Regions from separate parts of the Homo sapiens genome. Here regions 1, 2 and 3 are each linked to region 4. Evidence: promoter capture Hi-C in human tissues and cell types (Jung and others, 2019). All regions are on one chromosome and are shown on one strand. The core of a region is centred on a gene start or on the middle of the fragment in contact, and the rest is flanking DNA. Distances in the headings are between cores, read along the strand shown. Region 1 has its middle 55 kb from the start of SYT1. Region 2 has its middle 38 kb from the start of SYT1. Region 3 overlaps SYT1 (synaptotagmin 1). Region 4 holds the start of SYT1 (synaptotagmin 1).

Region 1 (2,705 bases), core at 186-2,685, 55 kb before region 4:
AAGTAAATTCAGTTGCTTTCAAATTCATTTTGTGTCTCAGTGAAAACAGAATTTACTAATTGCAAATCTTCTGGAAAGCATTGTTTTTTCCTGCCTCTAATTGTACCTTTAAAACTTCAGTCCATAATTTATTCTTTTAAAGAAAAGTACAATTTATAGTATAGTTGTTAAGATTGTTTAGTAAAGCAAATATGTTGGTAAAATAAGCAACTTTTTAAAAATCTGAAATTATCACCAAGATGAAATTACAGAATTTATAAAAATCTCCTCTATCATGAATTACTTTCTACTGAAACAATTCCTAATAACTTATTTTCACAAAGACTTAAGAATTATTCTAGTTGTAATAGTCCTTCATAAAAGTTACTGGGACTTAAAGTCTTCATTTTGTAAGAACAACATTTTAGTGCTGGAACATTGGCTGACTCCCTCCCACAAGATCAATGTTGTATGAAAAATGGAAAACACTCAAAATAGAGAAAACCTCACAAAGCTTATGGGGTTCTGTTTTGAACTAGTGTATGTGTTTCGTGTCAGGGGATGGGGAGGAAGGGCAGAGAATAAAATTTTTAGCATGGGGCATGGCAATGTTGTAGAAAGGTAAAGTAGAAAATAACTCTTGGGATTAAGTTTCTGCCATTGCCTTGGAGAGAACAAATGTGTGCCCCCACACCGGCCATGATTTAGAGCACCAGTCAGGAGTTTATCAGGAGTAAAATGTGGAGCCGTATGCATTTGAGAATTTGAGTAAAACAGGTGAAAATAACTAAATTTAGGCAGTGTTTTCACACCACTTTTTTTCTAAACTTTCTGGACTGATGAATTATATTCTAAAAAGGCTCTCCTCCTAATGGTCTTTGGTAGGGGTGGGGGTGAAGGCAAAACCTTTTCTGATTTTAGGAAGTGAAAAGGGAATTCCTGTGGTTTTCTGGTAACTCCAAATATTCATCCTAGAGCTCATTTCAGCTCTTCAGAGCCATCCTGGTCTTTCCAAATTGTCTGCAAATAGCTGATATACTCACAGGCAAATAAATACGTTTACTGGGTAAAATAAAATAAAATAAAACCAAACTTCTCCCAACACAACTGCTTAAACAAACTGTTCTTACTGTGAAGAAGCTAATCTTGAACTAATAGACAAAATAACCCAAACACTTTTTTGTTTGTTTGTTTGTTTGTTTTGAGATGGAGTCTTGCTCTGTCACCCAGGCTGGAGTGCAGTGCTGTGATCTCAGATCACTGCCACCTCTACCTCCCTGGTTCAGCCAATTCCCCTGCCTCAGCCTCCCAAGTAGCTGGAATTACAGGAGCACGCCACCATGCCCAGCTAATTTTTTTGTATTTTTAGTAGAGACCGGTTTCACCATGTTGGCCAGACTGGTCTCAAACTCCTGACCTCAGGCAATCCTCCGTCCTTGGCCTCCCACAGTACTGGGATTAAAGGCGTGAGCCACCTCGTCTGGCCACCCAAACATTTTTATCTTCCCTCTGTAGAATTATCTATAATTGCTGCTCCAGGGGAATGTTATAAAGTTTATCAGCAACAGTAAAAGGAGCACATTATTCATAGAAAGCTGTTATGAGAAGAAAAGATATAGTAGGAATCAAAACTTTTTAGCTGAAGCAACACTCCCAAAACATGCCAACCATGAATCAGAGGAAAACTGATACACAACATCAACATAAATTAAACTTAATTGAATCAATTGTTAGAGATAAGATACACCACAATGAAGTAGAAATTCAAACTACTGAATTTTAAGTAGAAATTCTGAAAGTAGAAATGAAAAATACATTATTTACCAGATTAATTGAAGAAAAATAAAAAGTCAAATCTGAAGTGAATATTAAAATAATAAATGGTCATGGGAGAATCAACATGATTGAATGTACAGTGATAGAGATGATACATGCAAAAAACAGCAAAAATAAAATTTGAAAATATAGATTAAAATATGAATAAAAGATATAGATCTGGAAGGCAGGCACGGGAGATCTAACATACCTATAATTGGAATTTGAATATGTAAAAATAAAACAAAATAGTACAAAAAAGCTAAACGTTTTTAAATGTTCTGAAATGGTGAAACCCCGTCTCTACTAAAAATACAAAAAATTAGCCCGTCGTGGTGGTGGGCGCCTGTAGTCCCAGCTACTCAGGAGGCTGAGGCAGGAGAATGGCGTGAACCCGGGAGGCGGAGCTTGCAGTGAGCCGAGATCGCTCCACTGCACTCCAGCCTGGGCAAGAGAGCGAGACTGTCTCAAAAACAACAACAACAACAAAAAAAAGCACCTAATTTTTCCACTAAAGAGGTCCATCTTTGTAATTAGAAAAATTAACCCGGAAGGGTCAAGTCCAAAACATATCACAGTAGAATTTTTAGAAAATCTGTTCTTCTATACAAAAAATGAACAAAAATAACAACAAAAAACACAAAGGCCAACCAAATCATTTTTTAAAGAAAAATAATTGGCATCAAAATTTCCAATATTGTGTGGAGCAATATTTTTAAGTTACTGGGAAAAAATAGTCTAAGCAAAGCATTTTCTTTTGGATAAATTGATTTTCGAGTATCAGAGCTAATAAAAACTGACTTAAACATTAAAAAATACAGAAACTATTTTAGTAGAAGAATAAATAAACATAGGGGACAAAGAGAAAATAAAAAATACAATGGTTAACGTTCTCACAAGTGGGAGCTGAG
Region 2 (3,016 bases), core at 179-2,678, 38 kb before region 4:
TGGCATCCTAAATTAAATTTCCTGAACTTTTTTCACTGAGAACAGAATCAGGTATATTGCTGTGTAAAGGCATTTTCAAGTGTCAGCTGTGACTTTGATCACTCTTATAGTCATATAACCTTTTTGTTAGAACTAATAAATAATAAATACCCAAGATTCTTAATTTTGAAAATAACAATTGAGTTATTTGGCTCTATGGAATTGCAAATGCCTATATTCTGAACATTACGGAAATACTAGAAGTTTTCACTTGGACTTTCATTAAAACATCATATATCCAAATGATATGCTTTATGAATACAAACTTAGAGTAAAATTTTAATTTGAAATTCAAACCCAAACAAATTTAATTCCAAGGATTCCAAAGCCCATGTTCTTCCCACCACATAATATTAGAGTTGCAGGTATTTTATTAATTTTTATGGAATGTGTGTATATCATTAAATTAAACAGAGAGAAAAGCATTTTAGACCACATCAAAATGGCATCTAGACACAAAGCCCTGGTAACATTTTATATCTGTAGGTTTAAACAAATGAAGTAAAACTCAGAAGGATTCCATGTGTATGAAATTCTGATTTATTAAGGCCACTTTTTGTCTGGAGTGGCTTGACATGTCACCAGGACACAATAATCATCTCTAGCATAATATATATCCTGTAGCTCACCAATTTACATTCCATTAGTAACTTGCTAATTTTTATACAAATATTCATTTTTCTCTATATGTTTGACTAAACCCAAAATGAGCCATTTCAAATAGCTAACAAATATTACACTTTTTAAATTAATTAAATACTGTTTGAATTTATGAATGAATTTTTTTTTAATTTCAGAAGCTGTTACTCCCTTCCTTATCCTTAACTGGAAGTTAAGACTACAGATTCTGAGTTAGACCAAGCTTCAAATTCCAGATATGCCATTTATTTGCGGTGTAACCTTGGAAGATAATAATAATGATTTCATTGGCTAATTATGAGAATTAGGCAATTTCATTTGACTAACGCACTTCAAACAACACCCACACATAGTGAATACTCAGAAAACATCAAGAAATACCTGTCTATAATACTTGATTTCTAGTGTATTTATTTTCTCTTTTCCCTCCTTTTTACTTCATTTTTCTGACAAGTGATAAATAATAATTATAAAAAATTAGAATATATGAAAAATAAAACTCATGGCATCTCCATCTAATCACATGTGCTATAAATATTTGAGAGTGTTGCTTCTTTTTTAAAATTTTGTTTTAGGTTCAGGGGTTCATGTATCGTTTGTCATATAGGTAAACTTGTGTCATGGGAGTTTGGTGTACAGATTATTGCATCACCCAGGTACTAAGCCTAGTACCCAACAGTGATTTTTTCTGATCCTATTCCTCCTCCTACCCTTGACTCTCAGCTATGCCCTGGTATCTGTTATTCCCTTCTTTGTGTCCATAGGTACTCTATGTCTAGCTCCCACTTATAAGTGAGAACATGTTATATTTGGTATTCTGTTCCTGTGGTTGCTTGCTAAGGATAATGGCCTCCAGCTCCAAACATGTTCCTGCAAAGAACATGATCTTGTTCTTTTTTTATGGCTGCACAATATTCCATCTTACATATGTACCATATTTTCTTTATCCAGTTTGCCATTGATGGACATTCAGGTTGATTCTATGTTTTTGCTATTGTGAATAGTGCTGCAGTAAACATACACATGTAGGTGTCTTTATGGTAGGACAATTTATATTCCTTTGGGTATATACCCAGTAATTAGATTGCTAGATTGAATGGTAGTTCTGTTTTCAGTTCTTAAAAGGAATCACCACACTGCTTTCCACAATAGTTGAACTAATTTACACTTCCACCAGCAGTGTATAAGTGTTCCTTTTTCTCCACAACCTCATCAGCATCTGTTATTTTTTTACTTTAGTAATAGCCATTCTGACAGGTTGAGATGGTATCTCATTGTGGTTTTGATTCCATTTCTCTAATTATCAGTGATATTAAGCATTTTTATATACTTGTTGGCCGCATGTAGGCCTTATTTTAAAAAGTGTCTGTTCTTGTCCTTTGCCCACTTTTTAATGGGATTTTCATTGCTGTTTGTAAATTTAAGTTCTTTGTAAATGCTGGATATTAGATCTTTGTCAGATACATAGTTTGCAACTATATTTTTCCCTTCTGTAGACTGTTTACTCTCTTGGTAGTTTCTTTGCTGTGCAGAAGCTCTTTAGTTTAATTAGATCCAATTTGTCAATTTTTGCTTTTGTTGCAGTTACTTTTGGTGCATTGATCATGAAATCTTTGCCAGTTCCTATGCCATAAATGGTATTGCCTAGGTTATCTTCCAGGGTTTGTATAGTGATGGGTTTTACATTTAATCTTTAATCCATCTTGAGTTGATTTTCATAGATGGTGTAAGAAGGGGTCCAGTTTCAATCTTCTGCATATAGTTACCCAGTTATCCCAGTGCTATTTTTTGCATATGGGGCCTTTTCCCCACTGCTTGTTTTTGTAAGCTTTGTCAAAGATCAGATGGTTGTAGGTGTATGGCATTATTTCTGGGTTCTCTATTCTGTTTTGTTAGTCTATGTGTCTATTTTTATACCAGTACCTTGCTGTTTGGGTTACTGTAGCCCTGTAGTACAGTTTGAAGTTGGGTAACATAATGCCTCCAGCTTTGTTCTTTTGATTACCTAGGCTATTTGGGCTCTTTTTTGGTTCCATTTGTATTTTAAAATAATTTTTTCTAATTCTGTGAAGAAAATGTCATTGGTAGTTTGATAGGAATAGCACTGAATCTGTAAGTTGCTTTGGGCAGTATAGCCATTGTAACAATATTGAGTCTTCCTATTCATGAGCATGAAATGTTTGTCTGCTTTTTGTGTCATCTCTGATTTCTTTGAACAGTGTTTTGTAATTTTTCTTGTAGGGATCTTTCACTTCCCTGGTTAACTGTATTCCTAGGTATTTTACTCTTTTTATGACAATTGTCACTGGGATTGTGTTCTTGATTTGGCTCTTGGTTT
Region 3 (3,031 bases), core at 464-2,963, 41 kb after region 4:
GTTTTTGACCATATTTTATAAAAAGAAATTTTTGTACCTTTTAAGCTAGAGGACAATTCTCTTACCCCATTATTTTTTTTCTATTAAAAAATCACATATTATTAAAGAATCACAGTTGAATCTGTATTACAGAAAACTTGATCTGTCTCATTAATGGAACCAAGTAACTACTGTATTCAGTAAGAAAAATAATAATTTAAACAGCTATATATCATAACAGTTATTAGAATCCCCGGTAACCAAAATTTAGTCATAAACCAAATTTACTAATTTTTGTTTTTATAGTGAAATGTTACAATTTAAAAAACAAACTGGAAACACTAGTGTGTATTGAATTTGAATTTATATTTTTATAGACAATGTTTTCCTATAAATATTTGTGAGATTTTAAATTGGTCATGATCTGCATATGACTTAGCCTTATGATACTTCTATATTAAGTTACATGTGATTTATCCATTGGAAAGCTAATGGAAAGCTTAGATACATTGAAGAGAGACACTATTAACGTGTAAAAATATAAAATTTGAATTTTTTAGTAAGTATTCAATGAGCACCTACTCTGGAAAAAAATAATGTACTGGATCTTTGGAGAACATGGATGTATAAAACATCATAACCTCTATTCACCAGTTTTCGAGTATCTCGACCTAACTCTGCCCAAGGATGAAACTCATTAATTCTAGAGTAGCTCATGATACGTAAGTCAACCTGAAACACAGAAAAACTATCTTTATATGGAAAACTTTTAAAAAGAAAAGTGCTGCAAGATAATGTTATTTGACATTTGAAGGGAAGAGATACATATTCCATTGTTCAAAAATGATGCAAAATCTGCTCCATTACATGAGTAATATTATATGAGCCATAGTCTATACAACATAAAAATACACAAGTGGACATTCTTAGTGTTCTAATAACATACATACAATTTTAACCTGAAAGATCAAATTATATATATAATTGTCATTGGCAATTAGGCATAATAGAACTAAATGTTTTAGAAGAGATTTTATTTTTTTGGTAAAAGATTTCAAAGTTTAAATAGAATCAACTTTCACTTAAATCCATTTAATAGTTTGTAATATTGTCCTATCTTGAGTCTCAATTATCATTGTATTTAATCATCTTATAATAAGAAGGCCAAATATGAATTAAGCAATCTCCTAAGATATCTCATAAAACTGTAGCTTTTTTGTTGTTATTGTTCTTACCTGAATACATCCAATAGTAGGCACTGATTACTTGGTAAGGCAATTTTTTGTTCCAGGACCATTCTAATCTTGAGAAATGTCTTCCTGTTTTCTGTGGGCCAGAAAAGTTTATCATCTTTCTTTAGTAACATGTTGCCATGATTTTAAAGAGATTAATTATCTGGGGCCAGCCCATAGTTCCTTCTTAGTAGAAGTACAGAAATCCCGCGGGGGGCGGGAACTGACTTACCTACACACTTCCACATAACATACAATGGGTTTTGCCATTAAGATCAGCTTTAGGAGTAAGAATCCACCAATTTCATGGAGAATTGGAAACTCTCCCTATCCAAATTATCTAACTTGTATGTTGACAGTGGTGTCCCGGTGGTAATTGAAGGAAAACAGTTGTAATAGTAATAGCTAAATTGTCTTGAACACTCACTAATATCAGCTTTACATTCAATGTTTCCTTCAAAGTCATACAATTTATGTTTACTAAAATTCCTTAAGCAGGAATGGTTGGGAGAAAGGTAAACCATCTATTCTTCTCCCCTAACCTTTTATTACATGGCATCTACAATATATTGGATTTTGATTTTCTTACTGTTGTTTATTTTCATTTTATTTCAGTTTCAATAAAATAAACCTAAATACCTGAACATTGGACTATTATTCCTTTTAAGGGAAATGACCTAGGAAAAGTAAAGATAGAGTTTTTTGACCTTTTTAATTTTTTTTTAAATTACAGCACATTACAAGGCTATTAAAAGTGTTGTAAATAATGTAAAATCTATTTAAAACTCTAATATGGAGAAAAATTACTCTAATTATATGTGCTGCAGCATCAAGGAAGTTTTTTCCCCCAAAGGGCTTCTCATATTTCATAAACACTGATGAGTTTTCCCTTCACCGAAGTAACATCAAAATTATATTTGTAATTTAGAAGTAAGTCTCCTTGTCAGTATATTTCAAGGAATCTGAAGAAATAAAAGCACTATTTTTAGCATACTCCAATCAAGCCAGTAAATAAAGATATGGAATATATAAATATAAAGAAATTTGTGTATTTAGAAAGTACAATTATAAAAGAGGTTCCTTTCAATAGAAGATGATTTATTGAATTATTTTCTATAACATTAAGAAAGTCTTGAAATAGAAAAAAAAACAAAATGAAATCAAATATTAAGTTCTGGTGATTGATTTTATTGTAGGCTTTTGTGTATGTATTCAAAAAGTAGGAAGATGTTCTGAGGGAAAAATGTATTTCCTCATGACAAGTGGAAGTTCATTCAAGTATTTAACAAATACTGGTGAGTACCTGCCAAGTACCTGATTCTAAGGGCTGAAGATATAGCAGTGCCCAGAACAGAAAAAGATACCAACCTTCATTTAGTTTATGGGATAATAGAGAGAAGCAGATAGATGTACTAAGTTGTAAAATATTTAGTATGTCAGACTCTAAAATTCTATAGAGAAAAGAAAGGGAAAAAGGCCGTAACAGCAGTAAATACATGAGTTGTCTGTGGGCCACAAATTCATGCGACAGCATTCAAGTTGTGAGGGATACACTGGAAGTCCTGGCCTCTTGTGGAAATTAGAGTAAACAGAGGATTCATTCTGCCTGTCTTGATGCAGGTCGTGGACAGACTGGGGGTGTCTGTCCTGGTGTAAGAAATGACCAGAGTCCTGCCAGGAAGAAGCAGTGTTCTGGGCTCTATCTTTACTCTGCTAGAGCACCACGGTATCCCTAGGCCGTATTGATCATTCTGTCATTTTCAGGTTAACATCTCATCACCAAAACATTTATTTTAGTGCCTACTGTGTCAAACGTTATG
Region 4 (2,700 bases), core at 1-2,500:
GATAATGGACGGGCCCCTCTCCCAGCTGGGCTCCGCTCCCGCCCCTAGCCTGGCGCGCGGTCCCTTCCCCCACCCGCTGAGCCTTCCTGTTCGGTATTTCGGTATTACCAAGCTATAAATTGCCTGAGAGCTTAGAGACAATCAGGTCACCACCGCCCTCACAAGAGAAAAGCTTCTTACTTCCGAGCAGAACGGTTCAGCTGGGAAGAGAGGAAGCAGGGAGAGAATCTATGCTTTAGTCGTCACTGCTCTGGCAAGGGGTCGAGAGAGATGGGGGAGGGAGGTGGCAAAAAATAAAAATGAAAAAATAAAAAAGCATCTCCAACAATGTTGCACTTGACCCAAGTGTACAAACTTATTGGTCGCTGCAATGGAAACTCCCAGTGCACTCTCCACGGCCTGGCAGCCGCCGCTGATGGGTGGAGTCGCGCTCCCGGCCCCACCTATGGGACGGAGCTGCTTCTCCCGCATCTCGGCTCCACCGCACCCTTCGCGGGAAGTCCCCAGGCTTCCAGCAAAGCTCAGCTTATCCCGCCCCCGCTTCCAACCCGGAACCCCAGAAGAACAGCATGATGAGCCTCCGGCAGCCAGGTGGGCCACCTCCCCGCGGCTCAGTTTGAGGACACTTGTGCGGAACCCTTTCACATCCCCACCCTACCCAGCTTTCACAACTCCGCCGGGTTAAATGGCCAAAGACAAACTTCTACCTCTCCTGTCCCCGGTCCCAGCTTTTCAAAAACCCACAGCTGGCGAACCCACACACATCGAAACTCCTAGGTCGCTGTTGCAGTCTGGGCATGCTCAGTATCAGGGTAGGTTTTGATTGAGAGTAAAAAAAAAAAAAAAAAAGCTTTGTATTATGCTCTCTTTCTCCTGTGCATACTGCTTGCTGAACAGCTTGTGGGGCATTCCTGAGTCTACCTAGAGGTTTTATCAGACGCCCTTGATTGTGTCTCCTTGGGATCTGTTCCCCTCTTACTTCACCCCCTCCCCCAACCCGCCTCCACCCCGCTTCCCAGGTCCCTGTCCGCTGTGGGGATGGAGAGACACTAACAGAACTGGGATGGGCGATGTTGGCTGAACGGATCCACCTATTATTAGTGCGCGGGGATTGGCTCCTTGGCGCAGCGTACCCGAGGTGGAGCCAATCAGGATGCTGGGGCTCGGAGATGATGGGCGGCCGCCTCCTCACTGGAGGGATTCCTGGAGAAGCTGCAGTGTGGGGATGCTCTAGACCGAGTACTGCCCCCAGTGTCTTTCCACCTCCTCCTGCAGCAGCGGCAGCGGCAGCAGCAGTTAGCAGCGGCAACTTGAGGCTGCACCCCGGGCAAGTCCCCAGGGTGGTGCTCAGCCGAGAGGGGGGCTTGGCGCCCCGAAGGGGTGTGTGTAGGGTGGGGGCGACCACGTGGGACCAGCTGGTGGCCCTGGAAAACCTCCCACACACCCACACCCACACACCCCTTTTGTGTTGCAGGCTGCCCCTCCAAGAGCGGAGGCAGCGAGAGTACGCGTGTGCCTCGCGCCGGTCCACGCGGGGAGAGCACTGGGGACCGAGACCCGGCACCACCTCCCGGTCCGCCCTCCAGGTAAGGAAGCGGGACTGGCGGCGCGGCCACCTCGGCGGTGCCTATCTGCTCGAATCCATCCCAAAGATTTTCTTCTCGATACACTTGGGTTTTAGTGGTGGGAGTCTGAGACCTAGGGAGGGATCCCCGGGTGGCCTATTGTGAGAAATATGAGACTACATGTGCATCTCCTGGAAAAGCACTTTGCACAGCGCCCGTGATTTAGAGCCTGGAGTTGATGTTGGGCATCCCCCATCTTCTTGCTTCCTCTTTCCTTCTCTTGTTCTCTCTCCTCCGTCCCCCACCCCCAATCTCAATCTTTTCTCTCTTTCTCTCCCACACCTCCCCTCTCGCCCTCCTCCCACCCTAAGCACGCACAGCGTTTCTTTCTCCTCCTGGAGAGGATTGCCTTTCTTAGAGGAAAGAGGGGGAGTGAAGAAAGGAGAAAGATTTCTTTCTGTTGGGGAGAGGGATATGGGGGGGGGGGGGAACGTAAACAAGATAGAATACAAGCTCTGCGAAAATCAGAGCACATAAAGCAATTAAACTGAATAAGGGGAGTAGACAACCAGTCCAGCTTGGGCTGTCAGAGAGAGGAAGCGTCAAGTTTGACTTGATTTCCTCCTTGCAAGAGTCTATGTCTCTCACTTGATTCGTTCAAATGGAACAAAAATAAACCGACAATCCAACCCACTTTCAACTGCTTAATTGCTTTTGCTTTTGAGTGCCAACCATCTGACTTTTCCTGTTTCCATCTGTCCTGTGGGGCTAACAATTTGGTATTGCACATCAGTGTTAATATCTGAACTTTGAAAGCTTTCTTGAGTAACAAAAAAAAAAAAACAATTAAAATAGATTATTACTTTCCTGAGGTTTCTTGGTATGGCCTGTTGTTGGGGGATCAAAAAATGTAAAGTTTCAAAACATTTGCAAGGGACAACAATTTTATAGGGAGGCTTGGATTTCTACTTTGAGAAAGCTAATCTTCTAGTTAGCTTTGTGTACATGTTGATATTCACTTTCTCCAGTATTAACCCTTTCGTGAAATAAAGCAACTGTTTAACTTTTGTATGGAAGCTACATTTGTGTAGAATTTTCACTTTATTCTACCTTTGTACTATTTGCATTTTATTGT

The links. Contacts are between HindIII fragments. The study calls those that stand out against the background at their distance.
Region 1: a contact is called between a fragment that was not itself captured here and the fragment with the promoter of SYT1 in region 4, in 2 of the 25 tissues and cell types used here (pancreas and spleen).
Region 2: a contact is called between a fragment that was not itself captured here and the fragment with the promoter of SYT1 in region 4, in 4 of the 25 tissues and cell types used here (dorsolateral prefrontal cortex, mesenchymal stem cells, spleen and 1 more).
Region 3: a fragment that was not itself captured here is called in contact with the fragment with the promoter of SYT1 in region 4 in 6 of the 25 tissues and cell types used here (adrenal gland, dorsolateral prefrontal cortex, hippocampus and 3 more).

The regions. Positions count from the first base shown.
Region 1 is chr12:78,808,734-78,811,438 of GRCh38, forward strand. No RefSeq gene overlaps it. Among named protein-coding and RNA genes, the nearest start is that of SYT1, 55 kb to the right of the region's middle. The HindIII fragment of the contact is 3,928 bases long and covers 1-2,705 here.
Region 2 is chr12:78,825,179-78,828,194 of GRCh38, forward strand. No RefSeq gene overlaps it. Among named protein-coding and RNA genes, the nearest start is that of SYT1, 38 kb to the right of the region's middle. The HindIII fragment of the contact is 4,062 bases long and covers 1-3,016 here.
Region 3 is chr12:78,903,852-78,906,882 of GRCh38, forward strand. The region is part of intron 1 of SYT1 (synaptotagmin 1); the gene reads left to right. It overlaps LOC105369863 (a long non-coding RNA gene), which reads right to left. Exons shown (of 7, transcript XR_007063385.1): 7 at 1,173-1,305. Among named protein-coding and RNA genes, the nearest start is that of SYT1, 41 kb to the left of the region's middle. The HindIII fragment of the contact is 5,273 bases long and covers 1-3,031 here.
Region 4 is chr12:78,863,524-78,866,223 of GRCh38, forward strand. It overlaps SYT1 (synaptotagmin 1), which reads left to right and starts at 1,251. Exons shown (of 11, transcript NM_005639.3): 1 at 1,251-1,586. RefSeq lists a silencer at 35-94. The HindIII fragment of the contact is 3,235 bases long and covers 1-1,615 here.